Regions from separate parts of the Homo sapiens genome. Here all the other regions are linked to region 1. Evidence: promoter capture Hi-C in 16 types of primary human blood cells and fetal thymus (Javierre and others, 2016). All regions are on one chromosome and are shown on one strand. The core of a region is centred on a gene start or on the middle of the fragment in contact, and the rest is flanking DNA. Distances in the headings are between cores, read along the strand shown.

Evidence for each region. Contacts are between HindIII fragments. The CHiCAGO score rates a contact against its expected background, and 5 or more counts as called.
Region 2: a contact is called between a fragment that was not itself captured here and the fragment with the promoter of ANXA2 in region 1, in 9 of 17 cell types (M2 macrophages, erythroblasts, M1 macrophages and 6 more). The highest score is 8.4, in M2 macrophages.
Region 3: a fragment that was not itself captured here is called in contact with the fragment with the promoter of ANXA2 in region 1 in 1 of 17 cell types (naive CD4 T cells); the score reaches 5.3 in naive CD4 T cells.
Region 4: a contact is called between a fragment that was not itself captured here and the fragment with the promoter of ANXA2 in region 1, in 1 of 17 cell types (activated CD4 T cells). The highest score is 7.9, in activated CD4 T cells.
Region 5: a fragment that was not itself captured here is called in contact with the fragment with the promoter of ANXA2 in region 1 in 3 of 17 cell types (activated CD4 T cells, total CD4 T cells and naive CD8 T cells); the score reaches 6.3 in activated CD4 T cells.

What each region holds. Positions count from the first base shown.
Region 1 is chr15:60,396,130-60,400,023 of GRCh38, reverse strand. ANXA2 (annexin A2) reads left to right here and starts at 2,038. Exons shown (of 13, transcript NM_004039.3): 1 at 2,038-2,081. RefSeq lists silencers at 1,306-1,615, 1,736-2,275, 2,346-2,485 and enhancers at 2,646-2,835, 2,856-2,905, 2,966-3,015, 2,509-3,100, 3,101-3,692. The HindIII fragment of the contact is 5,260 bases long and covers 360-3,894 here.
Region 2 is chr15:59,698,881-59,702,774 of GRCh38, reverse strand. No RefSeq gene overlaps it. Among named protein-coding and RNA genes, the nearest start is that of BNIP2, 12 kb to the right of the region's middle. The HindIII fragment of the contact is 1,672 bases long and covers 1,314-2,985 here.
Region 3 is chr15:59,744,821-59,748,714 of GRCh38, reverse strand. No RefSeq gene overlaps it. Among named protein-coding and RNA genes, the nearest start is that of BNIP2, 57 kb to the right of the region's middle. The HindIII fragment of the contact is 4,439 bases long and covers 1-3,885 here.
Region 4 is chr15:60,928,999-60,932,892 of GRCh38, reverse strand. The region is part of intron 1 of RORA (RAR related orphan receptor A); the gene reads left to right. Among named protein-coding and RNA genes, the nearest start is that of RORA-AS4, 170 kb to the right of the region's middle. RefSeq lists an enhancer at 1-948. The HindIII fragment of the contact is 3,040 bases long and covers 655-3,694 here.
Region 5 is chr15:60,910,121-60,914,014 of GRCh38, reverse strand. The region is part of intron 1 of RORA (RAR related orphan receptor A); the gene reads left to right. Among named protein-coding and RNA genes, the nearest start is that of RORA-AS4, 150 kb to the right of the region's middle. The HindIII fragment of the contact is 5,670 bases long and covers 1-3,894 here.

The DNA of each region.
Region 1 (3,894 bases), core at 789-3,288:
TGGACATTTGATGGCTTTTATATATTCCACATGATTTGAATTAAATTTTATCTTCTGTAAAGGGCCTATCACAGCACGATTAGGAGTAAGAGACTGTGGAACCTATCTTGAGATACACAGAAGGGAGGCTGAATCGTGCCCAATATTACTGTCTGCCTGTGTTCCCCTAACCTTCCAAAATGTTCACACAAAGTAAGCAGATAAACATTGTTTCTGACTTTGAAGCTTTCAGGCTAAATTGAAGAGCTATAAATGTAAATCAGCAATTGTACCCAAAGTGTTGCTTGATTTTCTATTTGGCTCTGTGGTAGGGCCCATCGCGTATAATTCCTCGTGAAAGCGCTGGGTAACAGAAAGCTTTGGGCGGGTTAAAAGACCTCAGCTGTGGCCGACTTTGCCTGTGTCACTCTATGCGAGTGGGCAGAGCACTGAATGTCTGTTGGCCTTGCTATCATTCTCTGATTCCCAGGAGTGAATTGACGCTCAAATGGAAAGTAAAAATGGATGTTAAGATAAATGGGAGATTGAAACACAGAATCATCAAAACCAGGAAAAAGAGCTGCAGGAAGTAGTGTGCAAGGAGGGGTTTAAAAAACGCAGCCAGAGATCCTCGGGATTCTCAGCGTCGCTTTCCTGTTAGTTTGAGGTTCGAATACAGTATTTGCGTCGTCTCACATACAACAAATAGGTGTCTGCCTGCACGTTGCCAACGTGACTCTTGGAAGAAAAGCGAGAAGCAGCAAAACCGAGCAAGGGAGTTGGCTAAACGGCTGCAAGAAACACACACACACACACACACACACACACACACACGGAAGAAAAGCGAGAAACAGCAAAACCGAGCAAGAGAGTTGGCTAAACGGCTGCAAGAAACACACACACACACACACACACACGGAAGAAAAGTGAGAAACAGCAAAACCGAGCAAGGGAGTTGGCTAACTGGCTGCAAGAAACTCTCTATCTCACTCTCTCTCTCTCTCTCTGTGCTGCAAGAAACTCTCTCTCTCTCTCTCTCTCTCTCTCTCTCGGAAGAAAAGCGAGTAACAGCAACACCGAGCAAGGGAGTTGGCTAAACGGCTGCAAGAAACACACACACACACACACACACACCACACACGCACACACACACCCCAGCAGTCATGAAAGAAGGAGAGGAAAGTTCTTTGTTGAAACTCCGGGTTCGAAACACACACACACACACACACACACACACACACACACACACACACACACACACGAAACTCCGGGTTCAAAGCTATGGGCCCCACCCCGCTCAGGACTGCCTGCTACGAGGCCGCGCAGAGATGCCCCAGGCGCGGAGAGAAGCGGAGCACAGCCGTGCTAGGGACAGGGGCGCCACCCTGGGCGGGACTGAGGTGGGATCCTGGCTCCCGGCTTTGGCCTCCCAGCCCAGGCTCGGGGCTTCCTGGCCCTCGGAGGCCGGGGCGGGCCAGGCTTTGCAGCACAGGGCGAATCTCCCTCCCTCCCCGGGCGCCCCCCGGGAACTGGCGGCCAGAGGTTAAGCTGACATGTTTGCAGACGGTAATGGGGCGCTGGATGCCAACAGCCCCAGCTCAGGGGAGTCCAGATTTATGTTTCTTGGAACAATTCTTTCCTCCATTGCATTAACGCCAAAAAAAAAAAAAAAAAAAAAAAAACACTTAATCAAGCCCAGAGTCTACTACTAAAGTCTTGTTAATTTATTAACCCAAGCCGAGGCTGAGAGCTCGACGTGGCACTTAAGAAGTAAAATGAGGAAAGGAGGAAGAAACGGGGTCCCTGTGGGCCTCGGGGCAGCCTCGGCCGGGCTTTCTCGGAGGGCAGGGCCAGGGGCGCTGGGGCCGCTCCCGCGTGGCGCGGCTCGGGAGCGTTCCAGGGCGCGGTCCCTGCGGGCCGGCGGGCCGGGGTGAGTCACCCCTGACTTGGGGTGGGAGCGGGCCGTGTAAGGGGGAGGCGGGGCGGGGCGGGGCGGGCCTCGCCTCGCCTAGGGAGGATGTGGCGGGTATAAAAGCCCCACCCAGGCCAGCCGGCTCTGCTCAGCATTTGGGGACGCTCTCAGCTCTCGGCGCACGGCCCAGGTAAGCGGGGCGCGCCCTGCCCGCCCGCGATGGGCCGCCAGCTAGCGGGGTGTGGAGACGCTGGGAAGAAGGGTACGGCCTGGCAGGGAGGCCCCGGCAACTGGCCCCGGAGGCCGTCGGGGGCAGGGGGCTGAAGGGACGGCCGGCACTGGAGAGTCTTTGGGGAGGGGGCTCAGGGACAAGGTGTTTGGGGCAGGGGTGAGGGGCCACCGGCCCTCGGGCCGGGAGGGTGCAGGGCAGAGGTGGTGGGGGGTCGGGCTTCTCTAAGAAGCCCTAGCGGGAGCGGGGCGAGGCGGCGTGGGGAGAGGGGCGGAGGGAGGCCCCGCATTCCAGACGCGCCAGGCGCCGCCGAGGCAGGGCGTGGCCGCCCAGGGAGCCGCAGGTCCCCGGCGCAGCAGTAGCAAGTGGGCTTTCCACTGCCCTCTAGAAAGTGCCCCCCATCTGCTCTAAGTTACTGTACTCGAAACAAACGCGCGCTTGTGGAGTTGAACCGACCAGCAGGAGGGAAGTAGCGGGGGAAGACGAGAGGGGGGAGTGTGAGTAGGCACCCCTCAGCCCCCCATAAAAGAAGACATTAAAACGTCAGTTATTCCCCTTGCTCTAGGTTATCTTGTAGCATAGCAACTTCGGATTTCACTCTACCCGGAGAGTTTCCCGCTTGGTTGAACACATTGGCCTCAGGAAGGTAGTGTCCCCCATGATTCTGTGGGGAGGGTTGTCCTGTTACTCGCCATGATGTGACAATGAGTCAGGAACTGAGAGTAGAGAGAAGGGCGTGGCCCCGGGGCCTCTCCCTTCTGGCCGCTCTGTGCAGCTGGCCCCACTGCTGGTGTGGAGGGCTTGGGTTCCATCAGCCGGCTGTTGAGAAGAAGGAGGGGAACACAGATAAGTTTCCTCATCTGGGAAGGTGGCTTAAGGATGCCTATTCTTACCACCACCCAGAGTTATTGGAGATTTCAAAAAACACAGTCATTAGGTAATAAATGTGTAAAGTACACAAAAAACAAAGTGCTGTGCAAATGCAAAGTGTCATTTTTGTAGTAAGATTGCCGTTTTAAAGCTGTGGGTGTTCTGAGTGCGTGTGTAAAAGAGCAGTGGCCTCATGGGTGCACGCTGGGCCATTACCAAGAACCTTAAGTTGTTGGTGTGCAAAGGCCTGGGCCCCAGACTGTACTGATGGATTCTGTTCACACGTGTGTGCTACTGTGCCTGTCTGGAACTTGGTGACTTGGAATGCAGAATGCACTTTCCCACTGAAACAGTGTTGCAGAAGGTGCTGACGTTCCCAGGCTAGCCCTGAAAGACCTTTTTAACATGCACTGCCTGATTATGGGATTGGTGGTGGGGAGGTGGAGGGTAGTGAGGGGCAATGTGTGTGTAGGAAGACTAAATCACTGAAATATTTTTCTGGAACTTTTTTTAGCTTTAAGGTTGACACTGAGTAAATTATTTTAATTGGAAAATTATGTCTTTGCCCCTGTTCCACTTTCTTTTTTCCACCTTCCACCTCCTTAGAGACGCTCTTCTGGCTCTTCCGTGACGCATTACAACAGCCATCCAGGCCGGTCCAGTTACGCTGCATTCCTTCCTCCTTCCCATTTCGGCGGACCTGCATCCAGCTAGAGACTAGCAGATTGAATCGATATTCATTAAGTTAGGAATGGTTGGTGGTCCTAAGAGCCTCAGCAACCGAGAGGAGTCTTGTTATTTAAAAAACAACGATACTGGGCGTGGTCGTGGGCCTGTAGTCCCAGCTGCTCAAGCTAGTGGATCTCTTGAGTCCAAGGCCAATGTGAGCAACATAGCAAGACCC
Region 2 (3,894 bases), core at 900-3,399, 700 kb after region 1:
AACTTCATATATCAATTTGTACACATTTATACAAAGTACCTACAACTTGCCTGGTATAAATAAATGTGTTTATTGCAGTATATTTATGATGTCACTGTGGTTTCCATGTTTGCCTTCCTTCTGAGTAATGATCTATATGTTTAAACTTGACATTTTAACAGTATTTTCAAACAATTTCATTCATTATCAAATAACCATTTACTACACTATGGCAATTTCATACCATTTACTGTACCCTTTAGACACTCCTAAACAATGATTTATCAACCAATATATAGATTTTAATGCTTATCACAGCAAATGTAGAAAGTAACATTAAATAGTGACTTGACAAGAGATAACTAAATTATCTTTTAAAAAAACTTGATGAGTCATGTTAGTAATAGCCAGTATGCCTTTATAGCTGCACTGAAATTAAAAGTATATTAGATTGTTATATTCCTTATGTATTAAGGTGGTTCATTTTAAAATCTATATGAACACCAGCTATATAACCTCAAGTGTTGATTTTAATGGAAAAAAAGCAGAAAGGTTATTTTAAGTGTTTTAGATGTTAACCTGCCTGATAGATTTTTGTATCTTGGCTTCTCCATAGGAGGGAAAATATTCTGGCTCAGAGAAGTCATCTCTGGGTTGATCAAATCTGGGATGATTCAGATGGATCGTGTTGGGCGAGACAAAAGGCTGCTTACAATAATCCTATCTGCTTGCTGCACACGAGACATACCCAGATCCTTTTAATCCTCATGAGGTCTGATCATATCCTTGCTGGAGCAACCCACAGAAGTTACATGGTTGTGAACTTTTATGAGAGGGGAAAAACTGAAGAATTTCTCTGTGCAAAGGAGTCAAATCAGCGGCAAAATGTGTTACCTTTGTAGGATCAACACAGTTGATCCAGTGAATGGTACTATAGTCCTGAGAAAATGCGGAGAGAAAGTTTAGGTTTAAAAACAATTAACAAGGACAGAAAGGGAGGAGGGAGAAACAAGACAACTTCCTTTCAAGTAGAATCATTTACATAAAACATTACACCTGATAAAGGTGTCTGTCAGTGTGTGGGAGGGTCTGTATTTCTTCAGTTATTCACATCCAGAATGAATTAACTTGACACTAATTGCAGAAGGATTAAATTTATTCAATCTTTATAGACTACTCCTTGACTATTAAAATTAAATGAAGATAAAAATGAATTATTCTTTCCTAGATCAAAAATGAAATACCAAACCATTTTATAAGGGTGTAGGAGAAGATGGGCAGTGAAGACCACAACCTGTGACTTAAAAAAAATAAATAAACAGAAATAAGAAGCTTAATTTTGAATAGATTTGTTAATTTAACAAAAAGATTCCTTATTTAAGAGGTCCCTAGGACACCTTCGGAAATATATTGTACCCTAGCTAGAAGAACCTAAAAATACACACGTTTTTATTAATACTTTACAAATATATATAGCTGAGCCAAGAAATTCATTTGCTAGGGAGTGGTTTTTTTAATAGTCAAAACACAAAAAACAATTATTAAAATGAAAAAAAGAGCAAGTTTCAAGTGATTACATTTCAGCATGTGTTCTCTATACCACCAGGTTGGATAAGGAACTGAAGCAAAAACTATTACAAGAAGAGGCAGTCTTGGCCAGGCGTGGTGGCTCACATCTGTAATCCCAGGACTTTGGGAGGCCGAGGCGGGCAGATCGCTTGAGGCCAGGAGTCCAAGACCATCCTGGCCAACATGGTGAAACTCTGTCTCTACTAAAAATACAAAAATTAACCGGGCATGGTGGCACAGGCCTGTAATCCCAGCTACTCGGGAGGCTGGGGTAGGAGAATTGCTTGAACCTGGGAGGCAGAGGTTGCAGTGAGCAGAGACCACGCCATTGCACTCCAGCTGGGGCAACACAGCGAGACTCCGTCTCAAAAAAAAAAAAAAAAAAGAACAAAAAAGAAGAGGCAGTCTTATAGACAAAACTTTGAAGGAATTCTGCATTTTCAGAATGGGACTTAAACAAAAAACAATCAGTTCAAGGGAATGCCTGAAACTGTCATCTGTTTCTTCATATGTTGTTGCCTGGTTTCTAGTCTTAGGTAACGCAGATAGGAATGAAGTGGGAGGGAGTAGGGGGAGGAGGATCTACAAATTCAATGGTCGGATTGAAATTTTAAAGAAAATTTGCTGATTCTGAGTTCAGGGCTCTTTCACCTATACTGTGCAAACCTGAAAACTGTAAATGCCAAAATACTTTGTAAATATTCAGATTTTTAAAATCTTTCCTATTACCTGGTGTGGAATTATGTACATATTTGGATGGTCTTCTTGTGTTATGCCATTTTTTGAAAAGACAGAATATAGACATGTAAAATATAATTTTCAGATGCTTGTACTTAAACATTCACATAACATTTTAGTGAATTTCTAAAAATCAAGGAAATAATCATCTCAGCTTCAGGCACAATGCTAACTTAGATGAGTCATAGGTACGTCAGAAATTAATGATAAGGAAACAATGTCAGGGGAAGTTAGGTAACTTGCCTAAGGTCACAGAGACTATAGAAAAATAATAATTAAAATGCTTCTCCTAACTCCAACCAAGTTCGCACGCCTTCCATTTTAGCATAAGGTTTATGTGTTGAGCCCTTCTATGAAAAAGAATTGCATTTTAACATGGATCAGTGTCATAAGCTAATTAAGGAAAGATGAATAATGTAATTTCAGGCATCAGTCATCTTACTGATTCAAATCCTGCCCCCATACCTCAAACTACACACAAGGCATATAGATGGAATGGCATCTCATTCATGTATGTGTGTGTTTATGTCTTACATTAAAATCATTCATATTAAATGAGTAATCTGCTAAGGAATTAGTATTCCACTAAAAAAAAAGAATCTAGATGTTAGATATTAAGGATCTTTTAAAGAAGATAATTCATACTAAACTTCGCATTTCATTTCTCCCTATTATGTATATACCTGAAATTGGAAAGCTTTCTTCTTTTTCCTAGTAAGTACAATTTGGTGTTTTAGCAATTGTATTAGGAGAAGGTGTTTCTCCTTCTTTATCATAAAGGAACCACATAAATGAGAAATAATGTTACAATTTTAATATTTTCTTCTCAGTTATACTGAAATTCATTTTTAAAACTCAGTACATTTTTATCAATTTACAGAGTTCCCATGTTTCAAAATACAAACAATAACCTAGATTCTCTCAGCTGAGTAAGTTACTTTTAGGATGTAAACTATTTTTGGAAATATACTTGTAGAACATTTACCCATTGCAACAGTGAATTAGATGCCACCTTTTAATTTTTATATTTGTATTAAATAAAAATGCATGTGCCTTACATAGAGCCATATCAGTGCTTTGTTTTGTTAAATGTAATAAAATTTCCAATTGACCCAACAATTACTTGTGTATTTTGAAATGCATTTGTTTTCTCTAAACAAATAAGATTGCACTTTGACTCTAAAGATGCAGAATGAATGATTAATGCTTTGATGAAGGACAGTGTTATATCTAATTTTGTGTTAATCTGGATAAGGAGACTGAAACTGACCGCAAAACAGTTAGCTTTAGTTGATCAATTCTTACTTCCACTTACCCACCCCAAAAATAATTTAAAAAACATTATCACTACTAAAATTATCAATCAATCAAACAAACTGCTTTTTTCTAATTGGAGGCTATTGCTTATTCATGTTTTTCTAAATATAGTTGATCACAGTGTTACTAACATTTCATATCCTGAAGAACAGAAGAAAGAGCGAAATCTACTTCCCTCATCAAGATTAATCTTTACTTTAATTATAAACCAAGCATGCAGATACTATGTATTAATACTTTTGCAAGAGCATTAATTATTTCAGTGAAGAATCATTTTTGTAATGACCCCTG
Region 3 (3,894 bases), core at 417-2,916, 650 kb after region 1:
TGTAAATCATTTGTTAATTTTTAAAAGTAAACATTTTATGCCTAAATAGGCATTTTCATATACTGTCAGTGGGCATGCAAATTGCTACGATGCCACCAAAGAGCAATATGTCAATGGCTATCAAAATGACAAGCGCATATGTCTTTAATGCAGCATTTTCTCTTTTAAAACATTTACCCCACAGATATACTTACACATGTAAATATGACATTTGTACAGGATAGCTCATTGCAACATATATAACAATTAAATACTCTATAGCTATAAAATGAATGAATTTATTTATATAATAGAATGGAAAGATCTCAAAGATATATTAAGAGAAAACAGCAAGATCCATGACAAACATAGTGTACTACCATTAAAAAAATAAACAAAATTAAAAAGCAAAAAAATATGTATGTGTGTTGATTCTAATATGCATACAAATTCTCTGGAAGAATAAATAAGAAACTAAAAACTAGTTACCTCTTGGAGAGAATATGAACTGGAGGACATGGAGGGCAGGAGGGGGAATTTTAACCATATGAATACATTATGTATTCAAAAAAATTAAACTACAAAAAAGTCATACTTTATAAGAAACTTAAGAACATCCCACTTTATTTTATTTTTATTTTTTCAGACAGGGTCTCACTCTGTCACCCAGGCTGGAGTGTAGTGGCACAGTCTTGGCTCACTGCAACCTCCACCTCCTGGGCTCAAGCAAACCTCCTACCTCAGCCTCCCAGTTAGCTAGGACCACAGGCTCGCACCACCATGCCTGGCTAATTTTTGTATTTTTTGTACAGACAGGATCTCACAGGCGGGTCTGGAACTCCTGAGCTCAAGTGATACACTTGCCTCAGCCTCCCAAAGTGGTAGGATTACAGGTGTGAGCCACCACACCCAGCCAGAACATTCCATTTTATGCCAAAGATAAACTTCCAAACCAGCAACTTAGTATCAAATAATAGCATTTAGGAAGGTATCCCCAAAATAAATTACAAAGAAGTAATTTAAAAACCCAAAGGCTCATATCATATGTTGATCTGAAAAGGACTCTAGTAAATCTATTTTCCAATTTCTTAGATCGTATTGCATATCTAATGAATGTAGGCTTCAACAGCTGGTTCACACCTCTGTTACTCAGGTTCTATGATGATAAACTGTGAATAACAGTGCTAGTAAAATTTCAGCCAAGATTATATGATAAAGGTGTCTCTGAAAGATCTTATAACTATCAAACCCCCCATGAATATGCAGTGACCAAGCACCTGTATTTCTCTTTCTCCCTGTGGATGAAATAGAAATATAGACCTTCATGGTAGCGTATATCATAAGACTATAATCCCCATGCCAACTGAAGTCACATTTATTTTGATCAATACTATATTCCTATCACCTATTACAATTATCTTAGCCTAGATTTCCCCAAAAGTGGAGTGGAAGACAAAGCCTGTATTTGAATAGTTATTTGAGACTGTGACACCAGTGGGCAAGAGCAAAGGAGGGAGAAGCAGTACAAGGTCACATTATCAAGTCAACTGCTGCAGCAGTAACAGGTGGATCCCGCAGGACCTTCTGGGGAGACTTCTGAAATGCCTCTCAGGCCGTCTTCTCAGAAGAAGAAAGTGGGAGGAACCCCATGCCCCACTGGTCCAGGTATCTTATGGAGCTCTAACTCCTCCACCCTTCCGGGTTGCACAGGTCTGAGTGCCAAGTGGACTCCCCTGGGAATCCAACGGATGACACAGCTGTAGAGAAGCCAGGGCAGGAAGCAAAGAGGCTCACGCTGCAGGCCAGAGGCGAAGCCCCATCAGGCTGCATCTGTGGAGCTTTGTTGAAGTCTGCAGGGAACTGGGCACCACAGCTGTGGCTGGCACAAGAGGCAAGTCTGAGAAGACCTGAAGTGGCGCTCAAGAGGTGTTCAATACACAGTGCATGTCACACGGTAAGGGCTCAATAAATATTTGTTCAATGAAAAGACCCCAGGTGACCGGATCACAGAATCAGAGAACTGGAGGAGTCCTTGCAAGTCCACTCCTCCAACCTCCCACCTGGTGTAGGTTTTCCTTCTGAAGGAGCCTAGAGATGCATCAACACTTCTCCAAAAGCGGGGCTCATCCACTACCTGTGAGGGAGCCCCTTTTGTGTTTAAGTAGCTCTACATACGAGAATGCTTTCCTCGCACAGAGAAAAATCTATCCTGCTGTAGCTTCTACCATCACTTCCAATTTGGTCCCCAACAGCATGCTGGGGCTCAACCAGCTGTGGGCACAGTGCAGCTCTAATTCACCCCTACATTGCTCATGTTAAGCGAACAGGGAGGAGAAATCCTGCATGCAGTTAATTTGGGAAAACATGACAGAATAATATGAATTGGAAAGAGATATGAAGCACTGTTCTTATGTTGATACAAGCAAATATGTTCTTTAAAAATAAAAAGGAGGCCAGGCATGGTGGCTCACTCCTATAATCACAGCACTTTGGTAGGCCATGAGTTCAAGACCAGCCTGGGCAACATAGTGAAACCCTGTCTCTACTAAAAATACAAAATTTAGCAGGGCATGGTGGTGCATGCCTGTAGTACTAGCTACTCAGGAGGCTCAGGTGGAAAGATCACCTGAGCCCGGGAAGTTGAGGCTGCAGTGAGCCATGATCGTGCCACTGCACTCCAGCCTGGGCAACATAGTGAGACTCCATCTCAAACAATAAAAAATAAAAATAAAAAGGAAATAAGTCTGTGAATACTTAAATAAAAAGATAAAAATCTGGTCTTCTTGGAGGTGAGGGTATTTTTTCTTTTTTCTTTGTGTGTGTGTGTGTGTGTGTGTGTGTTTCTGGCTTTGGTGTTATGTTTAAATAGGCATTCCTCACACTAAAATTATATAGTCACTGTTGTTTTCTTTTTCTTTTCTTTTTTTTTTTTTTTTTTTTTTGAGATGGAGTCTTGCTCTGTCGGCCAGGCTGGAGTGCAGTGGTGGGATCTCGGCTCACTGCAAGCTCTGCCTCTCAGGTTCACACCATTCTCCTGCCTCAGCCTCCCAAGTAGCTAGGACTACAGGTGCCCACCACCACGCTCGGCTAATTTTTTGTATTTTTAGTAGAATTGGGGTTTCACTGTGTTAGCCAGGATTGTCTCGACCTCCTGACCTCGTGATCTGCCCACCTCAGCCTCCCAAAGTGCTGGGATTACAGGTGTGAGCCACCGCGCCTGGCCAGGGTATTTTTTCTCACACTCTGTGCTCTTAGCTGAGCCCACTTGGAGGAAAACATCTACACTGTTGATTGTTTTTGCTTAAGTTCATGGCCACTCACCTTGAGGGAGCCCATAGTTGACCTGAAAGTCCTACCAGTTCATTCACTCTCCCATTCCAACCCCTTCTCCCCATGGCCACTCTCAGCTGATGGCCTTGCTTCCTATTTTATTGAAGACATAGAAGCACTCAGAAAAGTCTACCAGTTGCCATCACTATATCCACCAGCATCTGTGGATGTGATACTGGCATCTGTGGCCACATTCCCTGGCTTTCTTCCTGTTACTACAATGTGGTGGTTTAAGAATATGTGCAAAAATCTTTGACATTACTCCCTTCAAAAAGTGGAGCCTAAAATCCCTTCCCTAGACTGAGGACTTAATGACTTGGTCCTAAAAAATAGAATGTGAAGGCACTGAAGGTGTGTGACTTCCCAGGCTAGGTTTTAAAAGCATTGAGGCTTCTGCCTTGTTCTTTCTTAGATCATTTGCTCTGGGGAAAGATGCTATGTTGTGAATACATTCAAGTAGCCCTGTGAAGGAGTCCATCAGTGAGGAACTCAGGCTTCCCACCAGCAGCCAATATGAGCTTGCCAGTCATGTGAGTGCACCATCTTGGAAGCAAATCATTAGCTCCCAGACAAGCTTTCTAATGG
Region 4 (3,894 bases), core at 925-3,424, 530 kb before region 1:
AGAATTCAGCTGCTTTTCTGTTCCACACTCCTTGGTTCCTTATCAGAAAGAGCATTCATCCCTTTGCAGACAAACACCAGAGGTCCTCAGTGTCACATGCCAGCCAAGCTCAGAGCATCTCAACAATGCCAGGGAGTCTTGGCATGGGGCTGGGCCATGGGCTTGGTTCTGACTCAGAGAAGTCGGAACCACCTACTGAGTCATTTGCAGGAGCTGTGGTTTCCTGGGAGGTTTCCCAACCAGTTACCCACCCCGCCAAATCGCTGGTAGCTTGCAAGATCTGAAGGAGCCGCAATTCACAGTGCCAGGGCTTCAGGCAAACTCAAGCTGCATATCTCGAGCTGTTGCACAGAAATTATTTCCTTGCACTACATGGAGAAACTTGGCCCTTGGTAGTAACACGTAAACAAATGAAACTTTTTAACATACCTGTTACTTATTTGATCTTAGGGAGATCTCAGTTTCCTTACCTATGAATGAGCTACTATGAGTAAGCAGCTGTGATATCTGAAGGAATTAATGGTTTTTAATGGTTTCTCTTTAGGACGGTCCAGAATGACCCAGCCCTAATCGTGGCTGAGTTTACAAGACACTGCCTTGGAATCTGGTCCAAGGCAGCTGCTCATGGCATCTCCATTTCTTCTTTGAGAAGCTTTACTGCTTCTCAAGCAACCCCACCTTCTCAGGTCCCTCAGATTTTCCCCTCATTAGTAATCTTGGACATTTCAAATACCATGAATTCTTTCTACTCCAAAGGATTGGTTTTCAAGGTGAATTCAAAGACATTGATACTGCTTGTTATTCCAAATAGAAGTTGCCCATCTCCCTCCAGTATAGGATCTTCATTTAAAAAAAAAAACTCTTGATTCAATATTTTTCTAGATATTGCTTTGAGAATTCAGGATTAGAATTGGTACCATAATCAATTCTAGACCCTAATTTCTGGCATTTCATTATGTTTAGCTGCAGTGCCAAGTTGAGGCAATGGCTTAACATGGCTCCCTGACATGGTGTTAATATTGAAGGAATCAATATTTAGCTGGAGAAATGAATATTTAGCTGGAGAACTCAGCCAACTGTTTTGAGTCTGAGCTATCAGCCTCATAAGGCAGAAGAGCTTAGGGAGAAGGCTGAGGTTTTTGCCAGACCATGTCCCATCTCTTCCTGCCCTTACATTTGCTTATGAGGTCCTCACAGTGGCTGGTGGCCTATAAGGGGGCCCTTCTGTAGAACTCTGTGTGTGCCAGAAGAGGCAGCTTTGGCCCTGTGCAAGACACTCTGGAGCATTAAGTCTTGGCATCAGCCATGCAACTCTTGATACCAGTGCCTGTTTTCTAGAGGCAAAATAAGGACACTTCATGAGAAGAAAGGAGTAATCAAATGTCGGAGACTTGAAAGACTGCAGGAGTCTGGGAGATTGGCAGGGCTTAGCTCTGGAAGCTGAAGCCAGGCCTCTTCTCTCTTCAGCTATTCCTCCTGCAGCTATGAGTTGGGATTCTGCTTCCCCATGGAGCCAGAGGAGTGAGTAAGGAAGAGTGCTTGGGCAGGGAGGGGCTGTTCGTGGGTGGCAGGGCATCCAGTGGAGGCCTGTAGGCTGCCCTTCACTTCTGGGACAGGGGCTTTGTGCCTCTGGGCAGTGAACAGCCTACCTCCCAATGTGCCTCCGTGCCTCCTACTCCTGTAAGCCTGCCTGGCCCCACTTATGGACCTGGAGCCTATCTGCTGCTCTAGGCAGACTCACCTTCTCTTTCCCAGGTGGAATTTTCTCACAGACAGGGAGTTCTTCCCCAGACCCTGGACCAGTCACTCTTCCATGTGGTCTTCCCCCTCTTCCCCCTGCCATTTAAAATACACATTTAAGGGGTAAGTCCCTCTCATAACACTGTAGAAAGGGAACACCTACACCCTTTTACCCTCAGAGAACAGACCACTTTCTGTTTTTCAAGGGCCACTTTTATCCTTAAGCAAGACGTAAGAGGCCTCATATAGGCAGATGTGAGGCCATTTCATTTTAGAACATACTGGTTTTGCCCCACCAGGGTCGGTCTCTTGGCTCAGAGATAAATGATTGGGAATCTCTGCTCACGGACCTCAAAGTCTACAGGTGAGCAGATGAGCAGGTGATGACAGTCACCACATACAAAGTGTAACCACAGAGGTGGGTCCCATCTCAACAGGGCAGACAGTGGGAAACCTACCTTGGACACTTCAAGGAAGGAATTCAGAAGTCTAACTTCCTTCAGTGAATTGGGCATAATGAGCTACAAGGCTGTTGCATTAATTCCAAAGTGGGAAGGGAATGGCTGGTGTCCGGAAGTGTTCACATCTGCTAGGGGAGGCTGAGGACTCCTGGCACTTTGCATCTATAGGTGTTTTCTACAGCTTCATAGTGGGCCACCTGGTGTTGGGTCACTTGTATATTTGTCTTCCCTCCCTGTATTGGGAGACCATATGTAATTCTCAAAGATGCCTCCCACCGTCCCACATGGAAGGCACTTAAGAAATTGGATCTTTCTGTCTCTCGGCTTATATAGACCTTGAGAATGGAGGTGGGAGGATATGCTCCTCCCTCTTCCTGTTTAGAAATGACTAAATAGGGCACACTCCAGGGACTTGGAGTATTTCTTAGCTGGAAAATAGGGTAGAGTAGGAGGAGACTGGCATATCAGGTCTTATGTTGAGCTTTTTCGTCTGTATCTACTATGCAGAATGATGGGCTAGAGCTCTACCATCTAAAATGGTAGCCGCTAGCCACATGGCTATATAAATTTCAATAAATTAAAATTAAATACTATTAAGAAATTCCATTCCTCTCTCACACTAGCCAAATTTCAAGGGCCCAACAGCCACAAGAGACTAGTGGCTGCAGTATTAAGTAACACAAATAGAGAGCATTTCCATCATTGCAGAAAGTTCAGAGGCATGCACCAGAGACTCTAAGCAGCACGTGTTGATCCAAAATGTGCTCCATAAACCATATGCGTCTGAAGGCAAGAACAGAGGCGAGCTTGTCAAAATACACATTCCTGGGCTCCTCCCTAGACTTCCCAGGTCCGTATCTCTGGGGGCTGGAGGGGAGGCCTGGGAATCAGTATTTTAGCAAGCACTCCCAGATGGCTATTATGCAAACTCACACTTCAGGATGAGCACTCCAAGGGAAGCCAGAAGTTGAAGAGCGAAGCGGGAAAACCTCCTGATATGGCGATTCTGGGCATATCAGATGTCTTGTAGCACTTTCTACTCCACTGTAAGATTTCCCAACCAAACATTTTCAAGAGAATGCGACTGGAGCCTCCAGACTGACAGCTAAGTGCGCATCTCAGTAAAGTCCTGGCTGTTCTTCCATCAAGTAGTAAAAACTGAAGAAAGTGGCTGTCCTAGCATTATCTCCTTCTCGCCTTTTGCAGAACCAGGAGGATGGAAATAACCTCGTTGCTCCCCTTGAGTGTGTTTGAATCACAAGTACCTTCCCTCTAACATAAATTTATTTCCCGCTGCCTTCCTCTCAACAAAGACCAGCCAGTGATGAATACCAGACTTCATAGCTTATTTGTCAAAGCAGCACACCTGTGAGGATTCCTGTGAAAGATAAATTTTGATAGGGGGAGGGAGGGCTGGAGGAGGAGGGACCTGGCCAGGAATAAATCTTAACATGTTGCACCAGACTGTGAATGAGCGCTTGCCTCACAAAGCTTGCCGTCTTGACAAGGTATGATAAATTACCCTCTTTGTTGACACCTTCATTGGGTTATTTATGGCTCATTAATTGAACCAAAAAGGGGCCTTGTAGACCCAGCAGGGGCACCATACAATGCTCCTCCAATGGACCCAGCTCAAAGAAAAGAACAAAGGAGGGAAGAGTGGGAGCGGGGCACACAAGTGTGTCTGCTCCTT
Region 5 (3,894 bases), core at 715-3,214, 510 kb before region 1:
GCACGGTCCCTTTCATACAAAAGTCAGTGTGAAAGGGAGACAGACATTAACAGAAACACTTAATCCACCGGACTGAGTTCCATAGGAAGCAGTGACATGGCAAAAGGAGTGGTCAATTGTTTGGAGGGAACTATGAGATGGAAAAAACAGGAAAGATAATTTTCAAAAGACAAAGCAGCATGCATATAAGGGCATAAATATTTTTTGTTGAGACCCCCTTTAATAGACTCTAACTCTACAGTTGTTACTTTGACACCCTATACAGTAAATCCATAGTATTTAAGCAGATTCTATAGTCATCCAAATATTTGCCCATAGCCATTCTTTAACCGTGTCTGCTGCTAACAAATGCCAGCAAAGCACAGCATTGTCTTTGTTTTAACATTTCCCTTAAAATAGGGCCACCTTTCTGTTTTCCACCTGACTCACAGTGAAACAGAAAGACCTGGAATGAAGTAAGTCATTTGGTGCCCTGAGATAAAGGACAGCACAGCCTGTCACGTGGCAGTCACGGGGGAAGTTGTACTGACAGTCTCTTAGAAATGCAAAAACAATAAGGGCACTTGGCAACCAGAATGGAATACCAAGACGTTGGCCAATTTCCTCTAGGCTTTCCTGGGAGAGGTGGCTGTAGGAGGCTGGGGTGGAGGGGCTGATCACAGGCTTGCTCTACTGGCTCTAGAAACCAGAGGTGTAACTGGGAGCTCTCTGTAACTTTCCAGGTGGTGAGCATAGAGGCTATGGACATGGCAGGGATTTCCATGTCCACACCAAGGGCCCCTCCCTGAGCCTGAGCACGAGGTGGTGAGCTCTGAGCTCACTCCTGAATCCCAGCACATAATCACTCAGAAGCCAGGGAAAGAGGAAGTCCTCCAAAGCGTGGCTGCCCTTACCCAGTGTTTTGTGGAGCCTACTTTAGGCAGATTATCAGTAAGAATAAACCCTATAGTGCTATAATGGGCAAGCAGTGATACCTTTTCAAAGCACTATTTTTTTCAAATTGAACTTGTTTCTAAAACTAAATTATGGTAATGGTTGTACTACTCTATACATTTACTAAAAATCATTAAATATCATTAAATTGGATGCTTATAATGTGTGGATTTTGTGGTATATAAACTATGCCTCAGTAAAGCAGTTGTAAAAAATTTTTAAATCACACCTGTTAATGGATTCCCCAAACACTGTTTCTCTAGCACCTAGAGGTGGTGATTTTTTTTGTTGTGTTTTGTTTTGTTTTGTTTGTTTGTTTGTTTGTTTTGAGATGGAGTCTTGCTCTGTCACCCAGGCTGGAGTGCAGTGGCACGATCTTGGCTCACTGCAAGCTCCGCCGCCCGGGTTCCTGCCATTCTCCTGCCTCAGCCTCCTGAGGAGCTGGGACTACAGGCGCCTGCCACCATGCCTGGCTAATTTTTTGTATTTTTAGTAGAGATGGGGTTTCGCCATGTTAGCCAAGATGGTGTCGATCTCCTGATCTCGTGATCCACATGCCTCGGCCTCCCAAAGTGCTGGGATTGCAGGTGTGAGCCACCATGCCCGGCGAGGTGGTGATTTTTTTGTTTTTTTGTTTTGTTTTGTTTTGTTTTTTTGAGGCATGGTCTCCCTCTATTGCCCAGGCTGGATGGAATAGAGTGGTGCAATCATAGCTCACTGTAGCCTTGAACTCGTGGGCTCAAGCGATCCTGTCATCTCAGCCTCCCAAGTAGCTAGAACGACAGATGCAGCCCCCCCACATCTGGCTATTTTTTTCTCTTTCTTTCTTTTTTTGTAGAGGCAGGGTTTTGCCATGTTGCCCAGACTGGTCTGAAACTCCTGGCCTCAAGCAATCCTCCCACATGGGTCGCCCAAAGTACTGGGATTATAGGCGTGAGCCACTGCACCTGGTCTGGTTCAGAGAGTTTAACAGGCATTGCCTTAAGCAAAATATTGGACAAACTGAGGAGTTTCTAATATGCCTGTTGTGCCCTTTCTCCACCTCTGTGACCTTCCCTCAAATCAGTTACTGGGCAGGTTGTGGTGGCTAATGTCTGTAATCCCAGCACTTTGGGAGGCCAATGGGGGCAGATCACTTGAGGTCAGGAGTTCGAGATCAGCCTGGCCAACATGGCAAAACCCTGTCTTTTTTGTATTTTGTAAAAATACAAAAAAAAAAAAACTTAGCCAGGTGCACGTCTGTAATCCCAGCTATTTGGGAGGCTGAGGCACGAGAATCACTTGGACACAGAAGTTGGCAATTGCAGTGAACCGAAATTGCACCATTGCACTCCAGCCTGGGGGACAGTGCGAGACTGTTTCAAAAAAAAAAAAAAAATCAAAAATCCGTTACCTGACACTTTTCTCTTTTAGCCCTTCTTTCTCCCAAAACGAATTGCTTAGTATTTTACTTACTCATTAAAGAATGCGTCCTTGGCTTTTTAATATATTTGCACTTTAAACCTGTCTTTCATTCTAGAATGATTTTTAAAATCCTCATTCAAGGATTTAAAACCTTAAGGGAAGGGATAGAAGGGTAGTGAAGAAGAAGGGCTTTCCCCTAAGATCCTAGAAATCACAACAGGAAGGCAACTATCTATTTTGTCCGCCAGTAAAGTCAACTGACTGAGTATGACAGAAAATTGGGTTGATCTGATGTTCTCAAACATGGCCGTGGAAATGGCCTTGAGAGCAGAAGGTGTGTTGAAGACTAGTCCAGGCATTCCATCAGTCCACCAGTGAATCAGATACAACTAGGAGCTTCCGTCACAGAGGAGCTTACTGTAGTTACAAAAACAGCCAGAGTCAGCCGGGCACAGTGGCTCATGCCTGTAATCCCAGCACTTTGGGAGGCTGAGGCAGGTGAATCACCTGAGGTCAGGAATTCGAGACCAGCCTGGCCAACATGGTGAAATCCTGTTTCTACTAAAAATACAAAAAAAAAAAAAAAAAAAAAAAAAAAAAAAAAAAAATTAGCTGGGCATGGTGGTGGGCGCCTGTAATCCCAGCTACTCAGGAAGCTAAAGCAGGAGAATCATTGAACCTGGAAGGCGGAGGTTGCAGTGAGCCAGGATCGCGCCATTGCACTCTAGCTTGGGCAACAATAGCAAAACTCCATCTCAAAAAAAAAAAAAAAACCCAAAAAACAACAACAACAAAAAAAAAACAGCCAGAGCCTCATAAAGATGATTTATGTCCATGGAGAGAAGTGTGAACTCCTAAATATTGACATGACTGACAGTGTGGGGATGAATTCAATTAGTTGTTACAGTATCACTCTTTTAACCTTTAAAAGCATTTTGCATGTATCAAGAGAGAAGCCATGTGATTCCATGGAGAAAATGAGATGGAACTAGCCAATCTGGGTTTGTACCTTGTCTGTTTCTCTCTAAGTTCTTTGTGAATTTAGATGAGCCACCTAAACTCTCTGAGTCTCAGTCCTCCCATGTCTAAAACGGGACCCCCAACTTCACAAAGTTGTTTTGAGGTAGATGGTGTTAACCTGCTTCCACATACTGCAGAGAATAACTGTGATTGAATAAGAGGAGTATTTCACTAGTTAAAATGCTCTACTCTATTTACTTGATCTTCCAAATAATTTTCTGAAAAAAGATACCGCAGATGGCTATTACTATCTGATGGCAAAGAAAAACAGTAGTGGCTAAGTGACTTGCCTGGGATTAATATTCACATTTCCTGATAAGAATAGGGCTTTCTGGAAGCCAGCATTTTTAAGATTCTGGGTTAGTTTCCACTGTGGTTTAGGGAATCCAGTCAGGGGATGTCAACATTGACATTTCCCCTTCCAATTAGTCTCAAGAGTTCACATATCTCACTCTGTTCAATACAACCTGGAGTGTAATCATTTGTTGGTAATAACCTAGCCCTTGTTTAGCCTCATGGATCTGACTCTGAACCTGG